Regions from separate parts of the Homo sapiens genome. Here region 1 is linked to region 2. The links are contacts of gene promoters, found by promoter capture Hi-C in human tissues and cell types (Jung and others, 2019). All regions are on one chromosome and are shown on one strand. The core of a region is centred on a gene start or on the middle of the fragment in contact, and the rest is flanking DNA. Distances in the headings are between cores, read along the strand shown.

What was found. The method cuts DNA at HindIII sites, captures the fragments that hold promoters and counts their contacts. A contact is called where the count stands out against the background at its distance.
Region 1: a fragment that was not itself captured here is called in contact with the fragment with the promoter of NOS2 in region 2 in 1 of the 25 tissues and cell types used here (H1 embryonic stem cells).

What each region holds. Positions count from the first base shown.
Region 1 is chr17:28,008,218-28,015,543 of GRCh38, forward strand. No RefSeq gene overlaps it. Among named protein-coding and RNA genes, the nearest start is that of LINC01992, 20 kb to the left of the region's middle. The HindIII fragment of the contact is 4,743 bases long and covers 3,218-7,326 here.
Region 2 is chr17:27,794,030-27,801,832 of GRCh38, forward strand. It overlaps NOS2 (nitric oxide synthase 2), which reads right to left and starts at 6,500. Exons shown (of 27, transcript NM_000625.4): 1 at 6,310-6,500; 2 at 4,671-4,853. The coding sequence starts at 4,780. RefSeq lists promoters at 6,333-7,803, 6,413-7,530, 6,413-6,705, 6,464-7,803, an enhancer at 6,674-6,702 and a cis regulatory region at 7,015-7,037. The HindIII fragment of the contact is 5,928 bases long and covers 3,519-7,803 here.

The DNA.
Region 1 (7,326 bases), core at 4,339-6,838, 210 kb after region 2:
ATCGCTTGAGACCAGAAGTTCAAGGCCACAGTGAGCTATGCGCTCCAGCCTGAGTGGCAGAGTGAGAACCTGTCAAAAAAAAAAAAAGAAGAAGAAAAAGAAGAAGAAGAACCTGTATCTTAAAATTAAAATGAATTATTGGAAGTAAAGAGTCTAACACAGGCAGCTGGGTGCTCAGAAAATGCCAATTTTATACCTCATTCCCTCTGTGAGATTCTTGGGATGTGATATCTGCAATTCCTTGTGGTGTTTGTGAGTCATATTCTACGTCTGGGCAGAGCAAGGACAGCAGGCTTTGATGGCCTTACCTGATTCGAGTGCATTCCATCCTGATCTATGAATACCCTAAACCCCATTTGAAGTACATAAATTCACAAGGTAAGACTCTCCCAGGACTCCAAGATTGCTTGATGCACTGTTGCTCCCTGTAGCCTCACAGTGGCAACCTGCTGGGGTCATCAGCACCACGTGTATGGACAGCTCCTCCTCCAGGACTTCCTTAACTCTTAATTCCAGAACCTGGCCTCTGCCCATGGTTCTGATCAAGATTTCCCTTCCTTTCTTGCCCTTCTTGCCATAGCTTCAAGTACTCAGGCCAGAGTCCATAGGCTTGGCATACCAGAAGGTACCTGAAGGCATCTGATTCCAAAACAAATCAGGTTAGACAAGCCTGCTCAGGTAAATACATTTTCTAAACCTGTATCACCACTTTTTGGGAAAGGCTTCATTGTTATCTATTGAGGCTGGTTCTGACATAAAGCTTATGTTTTGAAAACAGTATAACTTTTTAAAGTTTTTTAATGAGCCCCTTCTGGGTTGAAATTAATGTCTTTTATAGTTGCATTCTCCCTGGCTTTATTTTCCATGTCTTAGGAAAATGCTTATGTAGCTGCCTCAGCTTTTCACAAATTATCAAGGGAATTAGGGCACATTTTGGGGAGCTTGTTCTTTGGCCTTATTTTGAGAACATGTCACTTAAATAATTCTCTCTCTTCTCCCCAAGACAGGCGTGGACTATGGGAGGAGTCCCATAACTGTTGCCATGGGGAGTAGCTTTTGCTTTATTTAAGAGAACTAAACTGAAGCATACTTACATTAGCAAATGGAGCAGATTCTCAAATTTTAACATAAAGCCAAAGTGTGTGTGTGTGTCTGTGTGTGTGTGTGTGTGTGTGTATGTATATACATATATATACATATATATAGAAAGAGAGAGAGAGAATGAGAGAGAGAGTGAGAGAGAGAGAGAGAGAGAGGATCTCACTCTGTCACCCAGGCTGGAGTGTAGTGATGCCATCTTGGCTCACTACAATCTCTGCTTCCCAGGTTCAAGTGATTCTCCTGCCTCAGCCTCCTGAGTAGCTGGGATTACAGGTGTGCACCACCATGCCCGGCTAATTTTTGTATTTTTTTTTTTTTTTTGGTAGAGACGTGGTTTCACCATGTTGGCCAGGCTGGTCTCAAACTCCTGACCTCAAGTGATCTGCCTGCCTCAGTCCCCCAAACTGCTGGCGTTACAGGCATGAGCCATGGTGCCGGGCCATACATTCTTAAATTGGGGTCTTTCTTCTCTAAATTGGGTTGTGGGCTGACATAGGTACTCTGGTATTAGGACACCTGGAGGAAAAGTCCCAATTAAGAGTTCCTGGCTGGGTGCTGTGGCTCACACCAGTAATCCCAGCACTTTGGGAGGCCAAGGCGGGTGGATCATGAGGTCAGGAGATCAAGACCATCCTGGCTAACACGGTGAAACCCCGTCTCTACTAAAAAAAATACAAAAAAATTAGCTGGGTGTGGTGGCGGGCACCTGTAGTCCCAGCTACTTGGGAGGCTGAGGCAGGAGAATGATGTGAACCTGGGAGGTAGAGCTTGCAGTGAGCCGAGATCGCGCCACTGCACTCCAGCCTGGGCAACAGAGTAAGACTCCGTCTCAAAAAAAAAAAAAAAAAAAAGAGTTCCTACGAGTACTGAACTGACCCTACTTCTGGAAGGCAAGAAAATGAGCCAGGATTTACCATATAACAATCATGTACACAAATCTCGAGTTGCAAATCTTTACACATGCTATCTCAAGGAGTTGTCACAGCAACTCTGGGAGGTAGGTGTTACTATCACTGTTTCACAGATGAGAAGCTGAAGTTTGAGGAGGGGTCACAACTTACTTAAGACCACTCAGTTTGCAAGTGGCAGAGGAAAGATTTATGCTCAGGTCAGTTTTGACACCAGACTATAGTGTTAAGCCACTGTCTGTGACATCAGAAACTCCAGTAGGACAAAAGGCTCTGATGGCATGATAGGGATTGAGTGTGGGGCATGAAGTTGCTGATTCCAGAATGAATGTGGGAGGTTCCAGAGAATCCTCCACATCTGTGAACCAATGCCTCTCTAAAGTTGTCTTAGAGGCACAGGCTGGTGCTAGGACAGCTGCATTAGAATCATCTGGTGGGCATGTGAAGAACGCAAAGAGCTGGATTCCATTCCCAAAGAGTATAATCCAGTAGCTGATATGTTTTGGATGTTTGTCCCCTCCTAGTCTCATGTTGAAACGTGATTCCCAATGTTCACAGGGCCTAGTGGGAGGTGATTGGATCATGGAGGCAGATCCCTCATAAATGAAGTATCATCCCCTTGGTGATAAGTGAGTTCTCGCTGAGTTCATGTGAGAGCTGGTTGTTTAAAAGAGTGTGACACCTCTTCCCTCTCTCTTTCTTGCTCCTGCTTTCGCCATGCGATGCACCTGCTTCCCCTTTTTCTTCCATCATAATTGGAAGTTTCCTGAGGCCCTCACCAGAAGCAGATTCTGGCAGTGTGCTTCCTGTAAAGCCTGCAGAACCATGAATCAATGAAACCTCTTTTCTTTATAAATTATCCAGCCTCAGATACTCCTTTATAGCTATACAAATGGACTAACACAGCAGGAGTGTAATCAAGCCCAGGAACATGAACATTAAAAAATGTCTAAGTGATTCTGATGCATAGATAGATTTAGGAACCACCACTGCCCTTGGCAACATTTATAATCCTCAGGGTTCCTCCTTCTCCCTTTAGTTGTAACATAATCCCCAGGGATTCAGAGCCAAGACATAGTTCTGAAGGAGGAGCTATAGTTACCATAGAAGTGATCACACATGCGCCATTGCACTCCAGCCTGGGCAACAAGAGTGAAACTCTGTCTCAAAGCAAAAAAAAAAAGTGATCACACAGACTCAGACTGGTTAGAACAGAGTGATTGTCAATCAGAAGCAGTGGTGGCATGTGTCAGTACCAAGGACACTTTCTCAACCTCAGTGCACTCACCTCAGTGGAGAACAACTGCATTAGGAGTGTTTGGTTATCCTAGAAATGAGCTTATTGGGGCATAAGAGATAACTGTTTGCTCAGGGATCAATGTTAATCACTTCTGCATTATTACAGAGAAGCCACTGCTTTCTTCATCATATGGCACATCTTCCAGGAGGACTATCTACAGGAATGTCTCATGTGTTTTGCCCATTACAACTAAAGGGAGTTTGCACTTGGGGGTTCTCGTTAGACTTTTCTGGTTAGACATCTGATGCTTCCTTCTTTGGGTTTTGAGTGGTCTGGGACATGTCAATAGCTTCCTGCACACCAAAGGAGGTCCGAGATCAAATGGCCTTGGGTATAAAAGTACATCCATGTGCTGTGTGGGTGGTGGGAACTATGGTGAACTGCCCAAGAGAGATGCTACTTCTCAGTTTCAGTCTATCCCTGCCATGCAGAAATGCAGGATCAGTATTACCAGAGCTTCCGATATGAGAGATAGAGAAGGAGACAAGGAGAGGGAGGTGGAGAGAGAGAGAGAGGCATAGACAGAGAAGAGAGAGCAGATACTGGGATTTCTAAATATTGGCTCAGATGAAAGTTAAAAAAATATGTGGGCCACACAAAATATTTCTGTAGGCCACATCTGGCTATGTCTGCCAAAGAAATAAGTTCCATTTTGGAAGCTGCAATTCCAAAGCACCATGCTTAGTCACCATGCTATGTTGATTTGGCCACCTCTCAGGGTGAACCTCTTAGTGTGGTCTTTGCTTTTAGGGAGAGAAACTGAGGGAGAAAGGTGGGACAGAACCATTTCTTACTGTCACCAACAGGCTCTGGTAGATTGCTCTAAAGCAACTTACTGACACACTGACAGATTTAAATTTCCACTGCTGAAAACCACTCATATCTTACTGTTGTCCAAACCCAAAGAATCAAATGGCCAACTCAATGCTGTTAGAATTTTAATAGTAATACTGGTTCCTCTTCCTCTTATCTTCCAAATCTCCCATGGAAAAATGATCATCTCCATTGACAAGCACCGCCATCTGCAATTGGAGTAATCTGAAGCTGGCATTGTACTCTGCTTATCTCATCAACCCAGATTCCAAGGAGTTGAGGGATTTGATCATTTATGAAGGGGATTCGACCTGCATTTCTACCCTCTACCACCACAAAGTAAATTGTGAAATCATTCACCCTTTTCTTCACTTCTAAATCCCTGTAGTGTCCATCTTTCCTGTTGCAAAGAAGTAGTAGAGGGGCAGAATCAGTCTGCAAGTGACAAATATTCTTTTTGCCTTGCAGCTCCTACTTCCACCAGTTCTCTTCTTTCCCACTCTCTGGTGGGTGAGAACTCTGGTGGGTAAATGTCTTTCCTGAGAAAGAAAGCCTCAACTAAGTGGGTGGTTCTGAAACAAAAATAGTGGCAAAGACTTGGCTGATGGAGAAGTATCCAAGGCAGTTTTGTGGGATCTTCCTGTCCCTTCAAAAGCAACTGGGCTCTGGATTCATATGTTAAAGGGACAGTTACCTTGGTAAGCATCTCTGTGTGTCAGATTCCTGCCCAGAGCCAGTAGCCCCTTTGAAGTATATGATAGTTATCACAAGGATGGAAATGGAGAAAGGTTTTCAGAATCACAGCAGAGATAATCTAAAATATTCATGCTTGTCCACTCCACCCACCCCAATCCTCTGGTCTGTCAGAATTAGCTTGGGGTAGGATTTTAATCATATAAAGTTCAGAAAATCTCCGTAGATGATTTTACTTCACTTGATTTAGTCCTAATTGAAAGCTACTGAACAGAGAATTATCCAGCCATTTGAGTTACTTTGGGAGTATTGTGGCTACATGGAGTCTATAAATGAGGTGCCCATTAAAAAACACACACACACACACACACCCCATGGGCCTTAAATAAGATGTGGATGGGATTAGACATATGCTTAGTCACCTGAAGGAGACGGGGCAGCTCCTAGGCATAACTGAAGATATTACCAAACCTAAAGAATGTGCCAAATTGAATGGATGGATAGTGCAGAGGAAAGAGAAGGTTGGTCAGTCAAGAGAACATAGACGAAGGGAAGCCACTGAAGCAAGGACTGGTAGTGCCCATCCCTGAGGGAGCCTCAGCAATTAGACCTTAAGTATCATGAACCATTGGCAAAACCATCACTATCACAAGAAGGATGAGTCAGGCCACCCGAGGCTGATGTCAGTAGGCATCAATCAACCTAATATCCCTGGTGCTAATTCCTTGCTTCTTCAAACAACCTTCTGGCCCCCTCTCTTAAAGGAAGAGAAAACACTCGTCTATATTTCTGGTCCCCAAGAAAGCAGTCTTTCATGGTGAATAGCTTTTGATTAATCATGATTTGGCATCCCATAAAGCTTGATTCCAAGTCCCTGCTTGATATGGCCTAAGCTTACTCTTCAACCTCATCTTAAACCACTAATGGTGAAATGATAGAATCTTCTTAAAAGGACTTTTTGTTTGTTTTGTTTTGTTTTGTATTTGTTTTTGTTTTTGTTTTTGAGAGGGAATCTCACTCTGTCTCCCAGGCTGGAGTGCAGTGGAGTAATCTTGGCTCATTGCAACCTCTGCCCCCTAAGCTCAACGGTTCCTCCTACCTCAGTCTCCAAAGTAGCTGGGACCACAGATGCACGCCACCATGCCCAGCTAAGTTTTTATATTTTTGGTAGAGACAAGGTTTCACCATGTTGCCCGGGCTGGTCTCAAACTTCCGAGCTCAAGCAATCCACCCACCTTGGCCTTCCAAAGGTTACAGGTGTGAGCCACCACCCCAGACCTTCAAGGGCTTTTTTTTTTTAAGGTGAAATTCTCATACATAAAATTAACCATTTTAAAGCGAACAATTTAGTGACATGTATCACATTCACAATGTGGGGCAACCACCACCTCTATCTTCCAAAACATTGTCATCACCCCAAAAGGAAATCCCTTAGCCATTAAGCAGTTGCTCCCTATTCTCTCCTGCCCCCAGCCTCTAGCAAACATCAATCTTCATTCTATCTCTTTGGATTTTCCTATTGTGAATATTTCATGTAAATGGAATCATGCAATAGATGACCTTTTGTGTCTGGCTCCTTTCATTTAGCACAATGTTTTCAAGGGTCATCCACATTGTAGTGTTTATCCGTACTTCATTTCTTTTCATGGCTGAATAACATTCCATTGTATGGATATGCCATAATTTGTTTATACATTCATCCATTGATGGATATTTGGGCTGTTTCCACCTTTCAGCCATTGTAAATAGTGTTGTTGTGAACATGGATGTACATGTCTTTGAGTAGCAGACAAATACAGTCCTCATTTATACACTTCTTGGAATTGCTGGGTCATATGATAATTCTGTATTTAACATTTTAAGGAACCAACAAACTGTTTTCCACCATGGCTGAACCATTTTACATTCCCACCAGCGATATAAGAGGGTTCCAATTACTTCACATCCTGATCAACACTTACTATTATCTATCTTTTCTTAATTATAGCCCTCTTAGTAGGTGTCATGCCCTAATAACTAATGATGCTTAGTATTTTTATGTGCTTGTTGGCCATTTGTACATTCTCTTTGGAGAAATGTCTATTCAAGTTTTTTCCCATTTAAAAAAAATAATTATTTATTCTTAGAGCCTGGATCTTGCAATATTACCTGGTCTACACTTGAACTCCTAGGCTGAAGCAATTCTTCTCCTGAGTAGCTGGGGCTACAAGCACATGCGACCCTGCCCTGCACTTTTTGCCAACTTTAAAGTTGGGTTGTTTGTCTTTTTATTGTTGAGTTGTAAGAGTTCTTTATAGTCCAGATAGTAGACCCTTACCAAATATATAATTTACAAATATTTTTGACCATTCTGTAAGTTGTCATTTTACTTTCTAAAACTATCCTTTGAGGCACAAAATTTATTTGTTTATTGCTCATACTTTTGGTGTTCTATGTAAGAATTCATTGCCAAATCCGAGATCATGAAGATTTATCTTTGTTTTCTTCTAAGAGTTCTGTGGTTTTAACTCT
Region 2 (7,803 bases), core at 5,250-7,749:
TTGCGCGGTGCTTTCTAGTTTACAGAGCAAATTTCCTTTCTGTCATTTCGTCCAGTCTCGTTAAGCAGACAGCTCTACGTTGTCATCTCCACTTTATTGAGGCATTAGCTGGGGCCAGAGAGATTAAGGATCTTGTCCAGGGCCACACAGCAGCCCCAGGACCACAGCCCAGCCTAAGCTCACACCACCTCACAAGGCTGTCCCGGGAAGTGTTATATTACTTGTTACATACAGCATGTTCTGTGCGATTCCAGAAAAGAAACCAAAGAAAGCACTGGGTTAGGGGTGACTTCTAGTAGGAATATTGCAGGAGGGATCGTAAGCCCCTTCCGGTGCCTTGCAGGCCCCTTGTCCTTGCTACCTGGACTGCGCAGAGCCTCCTGACTTTGCTCCGCCTGTAAGGTGCTCCTTATCTCAAGCAAGATAACAGGTAGGGTCCAGACCCAGATGGGGCAGCAGCCCTGGACCTCAACATGCAGGGGGCCCTTCTGGCAGTATGCAAGCACATTAAATCCCGAACCCCAGTTAAAGCAGAATGAAAGAGGGCACATATTTATTTCTAGCCAACTGCAGCCCAGCAAGCAACACATAGCTCGACTTGGTTCTGAATTCCATGTGTCTTCACCTAGATGCTCCCACATTTGCCTTTGTCCCTAAAATACACACATGCGTACACACACACGCGCACACACACACACACACACACACACACACACACCATGCTCATTTCCTAATTGTTTACGAAGGTATAGAATCACCAGTCACTTAGAATAGGCTCTTGGTTTCATGACACCTGAACAGATTAGAAAATTACTTTTTAAAATCAAAATATATTCATTGGCTCTCATTGCTTTCAGGATGAAATCCCCTTTGCACGGCTGCTTCCTCTTCCAGTAACATCACCCCTCCCTCACCTGAGTGGATGTTGCACTCTGGGTGGACCCACCTCCTCCCCCCAACTCCTCCCCACACTACAGCCTGCCCAGGCACCTCTGCAGTCTCCCCAGCAGAGGCCTCTAGCACGGTCCCAGTACACCCACAACTACGACCTCCTGTCTACACTCCATCCCACCTACTCCTGACACAATTTCTCCAACTCGCATTCTTCATGTACGTCTCCCAAACCAGCGAGGAAGACATCCGTTTCCCCGTTTCCTTCCTGACAGCAGGAACTGGGTCATTTTTCTCTGTCTCTTGAACAGTGCAGCACACAGTAGGCCCTCTGGGAGAGCACAGATAGTGTAGATGTTATGAGTTTGGACTTGACTCAAACCTTAGCTCCACTATTTTCCAGGAATTGACCTCCAGTAAGTCACTCAATCTTGTAAAACAAGGATAATAGTTCCTGTCTCATTATTGACACAGTACTAAGGACCTTATAAATGTTATCTATTGTTTTTAGCAGTGGTGTATGTAAGTAATAAGTGGCTCAAACAATTCACTGATGAGCAGAAGGGTTTCATTGATATCTTAACTCCCAGCACAGAGCCAGGGGAGTGGGCATCTGCATGTACTCGTCAATGGAATGTGACATGCCCAGGACACAAAGGTGGCAGCCCCATGCAGGGGTCCCTCTGGACTGCCTGGATCTGAATCCCAGCTCTGTCATTTGCTAATTATGAGATCTTGAAAATTACTTTAACTTTCTGGGCTTCAGGGTCCTCATCTTTAAAATGGGATAACTAAAATTCCTTCCTTGTGGATCGTTGGGAGAGTTGAATGAATTGATGTGTGATATTTTTTTCTTCATCCCCTCTTCTATCTGACTGGATCCTTTCCGCCAGCCCACCCCAGCATGAAGAGGAGGGGGAAAAACATGGTCAAGTTAGCTGGTTTGTCACATGTCCACTGCAGCTCAGGGCCCTCCCTGGAGTCTGAACTCATATTTCCTGAATGGTCCAAAGACACAAGTCAGCCCCCAAAGACATAGGGATAACTGGCAATGCTATTAGAGGGTGTGGGGATGAGGGTTAAAGGCTGCAGCCAACACCGTAAGGGTTTTGGGAGATTCAGGGTGATCCGGAAAGACAGCAGATAGATCACTAGGGCCCAGAGTTCGAGGGCAGCCTGGACAACAGAGCAAGATTCTCAGCTTTAAAAGAGAGAGAGAAAGAGAGAAAAGAAAAGGAAAGAAAAAAGAAGCCTAGGTGCGGTGGCTCACACCTGTAATAGCACTTTGGGAGGCCAAGGCAGGAGAATTGCTTGAGGTCAGGGGTTCGAGACCAGCCTGGCCAATATGGTGAAACACCGTCTCTACTAAAAATACAAAAATTAACCAGGCGTGGTGGCACATGCCTGTAGTCCCAGCTACTCAGGAGGCTGAGGTGGGAGAATCGCTTGAACCTGGCAGGTGGAGGTTGCAGTGCAGTGAGCTGAAATGGAGCCACTACACTGAAGTCTGGGCAACAGAGTGAGACCCTGTCTAAAAATAATAATAATAAAAAATAAAAATAGAAAAGAAAAAAATAGGGGATGAGTTGGGTCTGGATGAGCTGAGGGAGGAATGTGCTATGCACAGGCACTGGGGAGCTGAGGAAGGCTGGGATGGGCAGGTGGGATGGGCTCTCCATTTGGGTAGGGTGCTCGCTCAGAACTCTGTGGAAGCTTTAATGTGGTGACAGGCAATGGGGAGCCACTGCAGGCTCTAGAATAGGGGCGTGACTTGCTAGAAGTCCAGTTGGCAAGAGAGAGCTCAGAGCCAGTGTGGGGAGCTGGAGTCAGGGAGGTCAGCTGGCAGCGGCTGCAATGATGAGATGAAGAGAAGGAAGGGGCGAAGCCACTGCCCCTCTACAGCCCTTAGAATCTGGACATCTAGAGGCCATCAACTCTGTGTTCTCACCTCTTGGTCTCTTAGCCACCTCAGTTGCCATAGCCCAGACTGCCTGGTTTCAAAGTCCTCTCCTCCAATTCACCTACCACACCACAGCTAGACTGTCCTGCTCAAGAACCTACAATGGCTCCCTACTGCCAGGGAGAGCGAGTCCAAATCTCCTACCCTGCATTCAAGCCCTTGTGCTCTGGCCTGGCTTTGCCTATCCCAGCCCCCAGCCCACTCCTGGCCAAGCACAGTCAGGCTCATTTCTGCCTCTGAGCCTCTGCTCACCTCTCCCCTCTTCCTGAATGTCCTTGCTACTCCTCTGCACCTGTCTACATTCTACCCATACTTCAAAGGCCACAGAGTCCACCTGACTTCTGTGAAGCCCCTAGAGGGAACTCTGTTCAATTTTGCTCCATCACCTCCTAACTGCCAACACCACCGCTAATGATAGCAATGCCAACAGTGCCATTTGCTGAGCACTTACTCCAGGCCAGGCCCTGTGCTAAGTTGCTCACATGGGAAAGCTCATTTACTCCTTCCTCCAACTCCAGGAAATCACCATTGTTACCCTCTTCTTATAGAGGAGGAAATTGAGGCTCAGAGGCTAGGGGACTTGCCAAAGGTTACAGGGCTACTGAGTGGCAAAGCCACTTGCTCATCCCCAAGCCCATCCTCTTAGCCACTGGCATTTTTTGCCGCCTCTGACAGATACACTCAGGGCCGTCATGCTGTACACATCCAGGGGGCGCCCTACCCTTTGTAGTCCATGGGAAAGGCTCCTCTGGGGCGGTGGGGTTGTGTGGCTATGTGGTGGTCTTGTGTAGATGGGGGCTTTGGTTTCAGTTGCACTATTGCGTTATTGCAGATTGCTTTGTCTTTCCACCTGAGCGAGCCTCAAGCCTGTCCCTTGACTTGTTCATTAACTGACTCATTCTCTTGGTTCTGCCCTGGGAGGAAGGATGGGCCCGGGGAGGAGGGACATGAAGAATCCAAATCTGGGCTCAAGTTCCAACTCTGTAAACTCTGTAATTACCGGTCATTCAGGCTGGGGGAAGTCATAATCCTATTAGAGCTTCTATTTCCTTATCTGTGAAATGAGTCAATCATATGAACTTCAAAGAGCCGCCACAGAGATCAGTTGAGATGCAAAGTCTGTCAAGTGGCCTGTGTAGCTCTGGCAAGGGCAGGTACTCAGTAGATGGTGATGAACCCTGATGTGGACTAAGTGTCTGTTCTGTGTGGGCACAGTGCTGAGTGCTGTAGATCTCATTTCATCCTCAGCACACTATGGTGAGGGCCCCCTTGGGTTCCTCATACCACAGGTGAGCACTAAGTTTCAGAGAGGTTAACTTACCCTGCGTCACACAGCTGGCTAGAGGCAGCACCCGGCAACTAGTGCGGCCAGCACAGGGCTTGGAACTAGTTTGTCTAACATCCTGATGCCCTTCACCAGGATGATATTCAAAGCATCTAGCAAGCGGTGAATTGGAATGGACGCAGGCCAGGATGCTGACCCTCCACCCCCACCCCTCCGCCATGGTGCCCACCACGAGGCTCTACTGCCTCCCATTCTCAGGCCAAGCTCCTTCCCATATTCTTCCCCAAAGATTCCAAGCTTCTTCAGGGCCAGCCCCGCACCATGTCCCTTCCTTCTTCACATACCGTCAGGCACAGCGAGGTGCCCAATAATCAGCGGCTGCATTGAATTCCAACAGGGACTTTCAAGAAGCAATGAGGAGATCAGACCTCAGGTGAGAGAGGAGGAGCAGAGAGAGGAATTCTGAGTCATCGGTGCCGACAGGGCATGGGTGCCCAAGGAGACAAGCAGGAGGTTCCCCCAGGGAAAACTCACCTGGAGGTGGCACAGGGGGCTTTCTCCACATTGTTGTTGATGTCTTTTTCCCCATTCATTGCATACTGGTGGAATTTGGTCTTGAACAGAAATTTCCAAGGACAGGCCATCTCTATGGCTTTACAAAGCAGGTCACTTATGTCACTTATCTGGATTTGAGCTCAGATGTTCTTCACTGTGGGGCTGAAGAAGGGAAGCAGAGGTGAGGGAAGGTTGAAGAAGAGTTTACAGAACAGGGCTTCTCAGTGGGGTTGGCTCACTGGGGAATCGATATGAACGCCAGCATGAGCCCCTTCATCAATGCTTTGCAACCTCTGTCTCTATTTCGGGGTTGGAATGGGGAGCCTTCGGACACAGACTTCAATTCTGTAAAGCCACCTAATAATCTTAAGGAAAAACAATGAACCCCCCCATCCCCATCGCCACTTAACAAGGACAAACTGTATGCACCATGAGCCTCCTTAGCGGGACCTGCTGGCCCACCAGACCCAGCCAGGCTTCATCACTGGCCACAGGCAGGGTGAGGAAGAGCCCGGAGGTCGTTGAAACAGGGGTGCCTTTGCCTGACCCTGAAAGACACTTCCCAGCAGCTCTCATTATCAACTGTAGTTTTAGGTCTATTACTGGGGAAAGCACTCAAGCTGTAGCTACCTTTCTTTTAAAGATTTTGCAGTTGTTGTTCTAACTCAGCATTATTACTTGCTCCTCTTTTATTATGTGGGGAGGAAATATTTGTGAAAAATGCACTCATCCCTCGAAATCTGAGATCATCTCCTTTGAAACAGACAAGAGGAAGATCAAAGAGGCAAAAACTCTGTCTTTAGAAGACAGTGTAGTGAATATAGTCCATGTAAGAATTTTAGGCCAAGTGCAGTGGCTCACGCCTGTAATCCCAGCATTTCGGGAGACCGAGGCAGGAGGATCGCTTGAGTCCAAGAGTTCGAGTTCAGCCTGGGCAACATAGGGAGACCTTGACTACAAAAAATTGAAAAATTAGCCAGGCAGGCATGGTGTCTTGTGCCTGTAGTCCCAGCTACTCGGGAGGCTGAGGCAGAAGGATTGCTTGAGGCTGGGCAGTCAAGGCTGTTTCCAAAAAAAAAAAAGAAAGAAAGGGAAGGGAAGGGAGGGGAAGGGAGGAAAGGACAGGAAGGAAAGGAAGGAAAGAGGGAAAGAAAGAAAAGAACTTATAGCCCCATAGACCTGGGTTCAAATCCTGGAATCCTAGCTCTACCAGTTATGTGTCCTGGATCAAGTTATTTAACTGAAACTCATTTATTCATCCATAAAATGGGTTTAATATATCCATCTTACCAGGATTTGTGGGGAGGTTACATGTTATAAGGACTGATAAGATAATCTCTGTTAAAAAAAATTCTTAGCAGATACAAACTCCCATTTTGAACTTTTCAGAAAGTTTTTCCTTGTCATGTAACAACCACAGCTAATATTTGCAGAAAAGAAATCTGACCAAGATGCCATGTTCAAATGACCAAACCTCATGTCGGCATTTTTTTACCTAGACTTTCCAACACCTTCTCTCTGTAGGCAGAAAATTCCCACAATTTTCTGAGCCTTCTCAAAGAGGAAGAAACAAAACCCTCTCAAAACAGCCGCTTCCCCAGAAATGAAGGCAACTCACCTTGCAGCTGGCTGCACTGCCTCCCCGGGGTAAGGACAGTCAAACCAGGAAGAGACCTGTGCCTTGAGAACTTCGGGACTGTCTAGAACTGCCCAGTCCCCTCATCAAAGGTGGCCGAGAGATTTTAAAGCAGGAATGAGGCTGAGTTCTCTGCGGCCGGAGCCTCAGTTTTCGACTCGCTACAAAGTTATGAACACACTGGCAGCCAAGAAGTATTTATACTCACCCCATGCCATCCAGAGAGTTGTTTTTGCATAAAGGTCTCTTTTTTTTTTTTTTTTTTTTGGTTTCCAAAGGGAGTGTCCCCAGCTTGTGTACAGTTAGCTAATTTATGACTGTGACTGCCAGGGCCTGTGGGTGACCTGATCTTGCTGTTACATCACTCTGTGTGGTGCCTCTTCACCCAACCCACCTCTTTCTGGTCCCAAGTCCAAGGTGGCAGTTCATCAGCAGGGTGGCTGCTAAGATAGAGGCACCACGGAGCCAGGTTTTATTTGGCCAAGCCACATGGCCTCACTTTCAGCATCTGGGAGATTTTTTCCTCAGCAGGGAGCTCTCTGGTTAATCCCTGTCCATCCTCTCACTTTTCCAGCTTGTGACAGGAGTCCAGGAAGCTGGGGGAATATTGACAGTATGGAACACACTGGAAAATGCCCAGGTTCCAGAAGGCCAGTGATATTAGATGATGCCATTATTCCAGACAGGCCTCTGAACTAGTCACTTGAGGTTTTTGGAAGGGAAAGGAAGGAAGGCTATTGGCACAGAGAGGCCTCTGAGATGTTGGTCTTACTAACACCTCATCCTTTAGCACTAGGTAAGCTTTGGTGGAATGGCAGGTAGGATTAAATTCCTTCCCTTATAATGGAAATGATCACTTCTTACATGAAAAAGTGGTAATTTCTTATAATTTCATTTCATTTATTTTATTTATTTATTTATTTTTGAGATGGAGTCTCATTCTGTCACCAAGACTGGAGCGGAGTGGCACGATCTCTGCTCATTGCAACTTCTGCCTCCCAGGCTCAAGCGATCCTCCCACCTCAGCCTCCTGAGTAGCTGGGACTACAGGCATGCACCACCACACCCAGCTAATATTTTTGTGTTTTTGGTAGAGACTGGGTTTCACCATGTTGTCCATGCTGGTCTCGAACTCTGAAGCTCAAGTGATCTGCCCACTTCAGCCTCTCAAAGTGCTAGGATTACAAGGGTTAGCCACCATGCCCGGCCTATAATTTCATTCCTTATAATGCCTGAAATACAGTATTCCCATACATATGCATTTTTCCATCATAAAAGTAAAATAACAACTACATTAGGGAGAAGTTGAGAAGCAAAGGGAAAAAAAGTCACCCTTGATCTCACCGTCCCAACACTTTGCTACCACTGTCCACTCATTTCCTTCTTGTCTTTCCCAAGTTAAATTCAGCATAATATATTAACTTTGTCAAAGATAAACTAAGAGCCACAAAAAAGACATGGATATCAGAGCTCAAG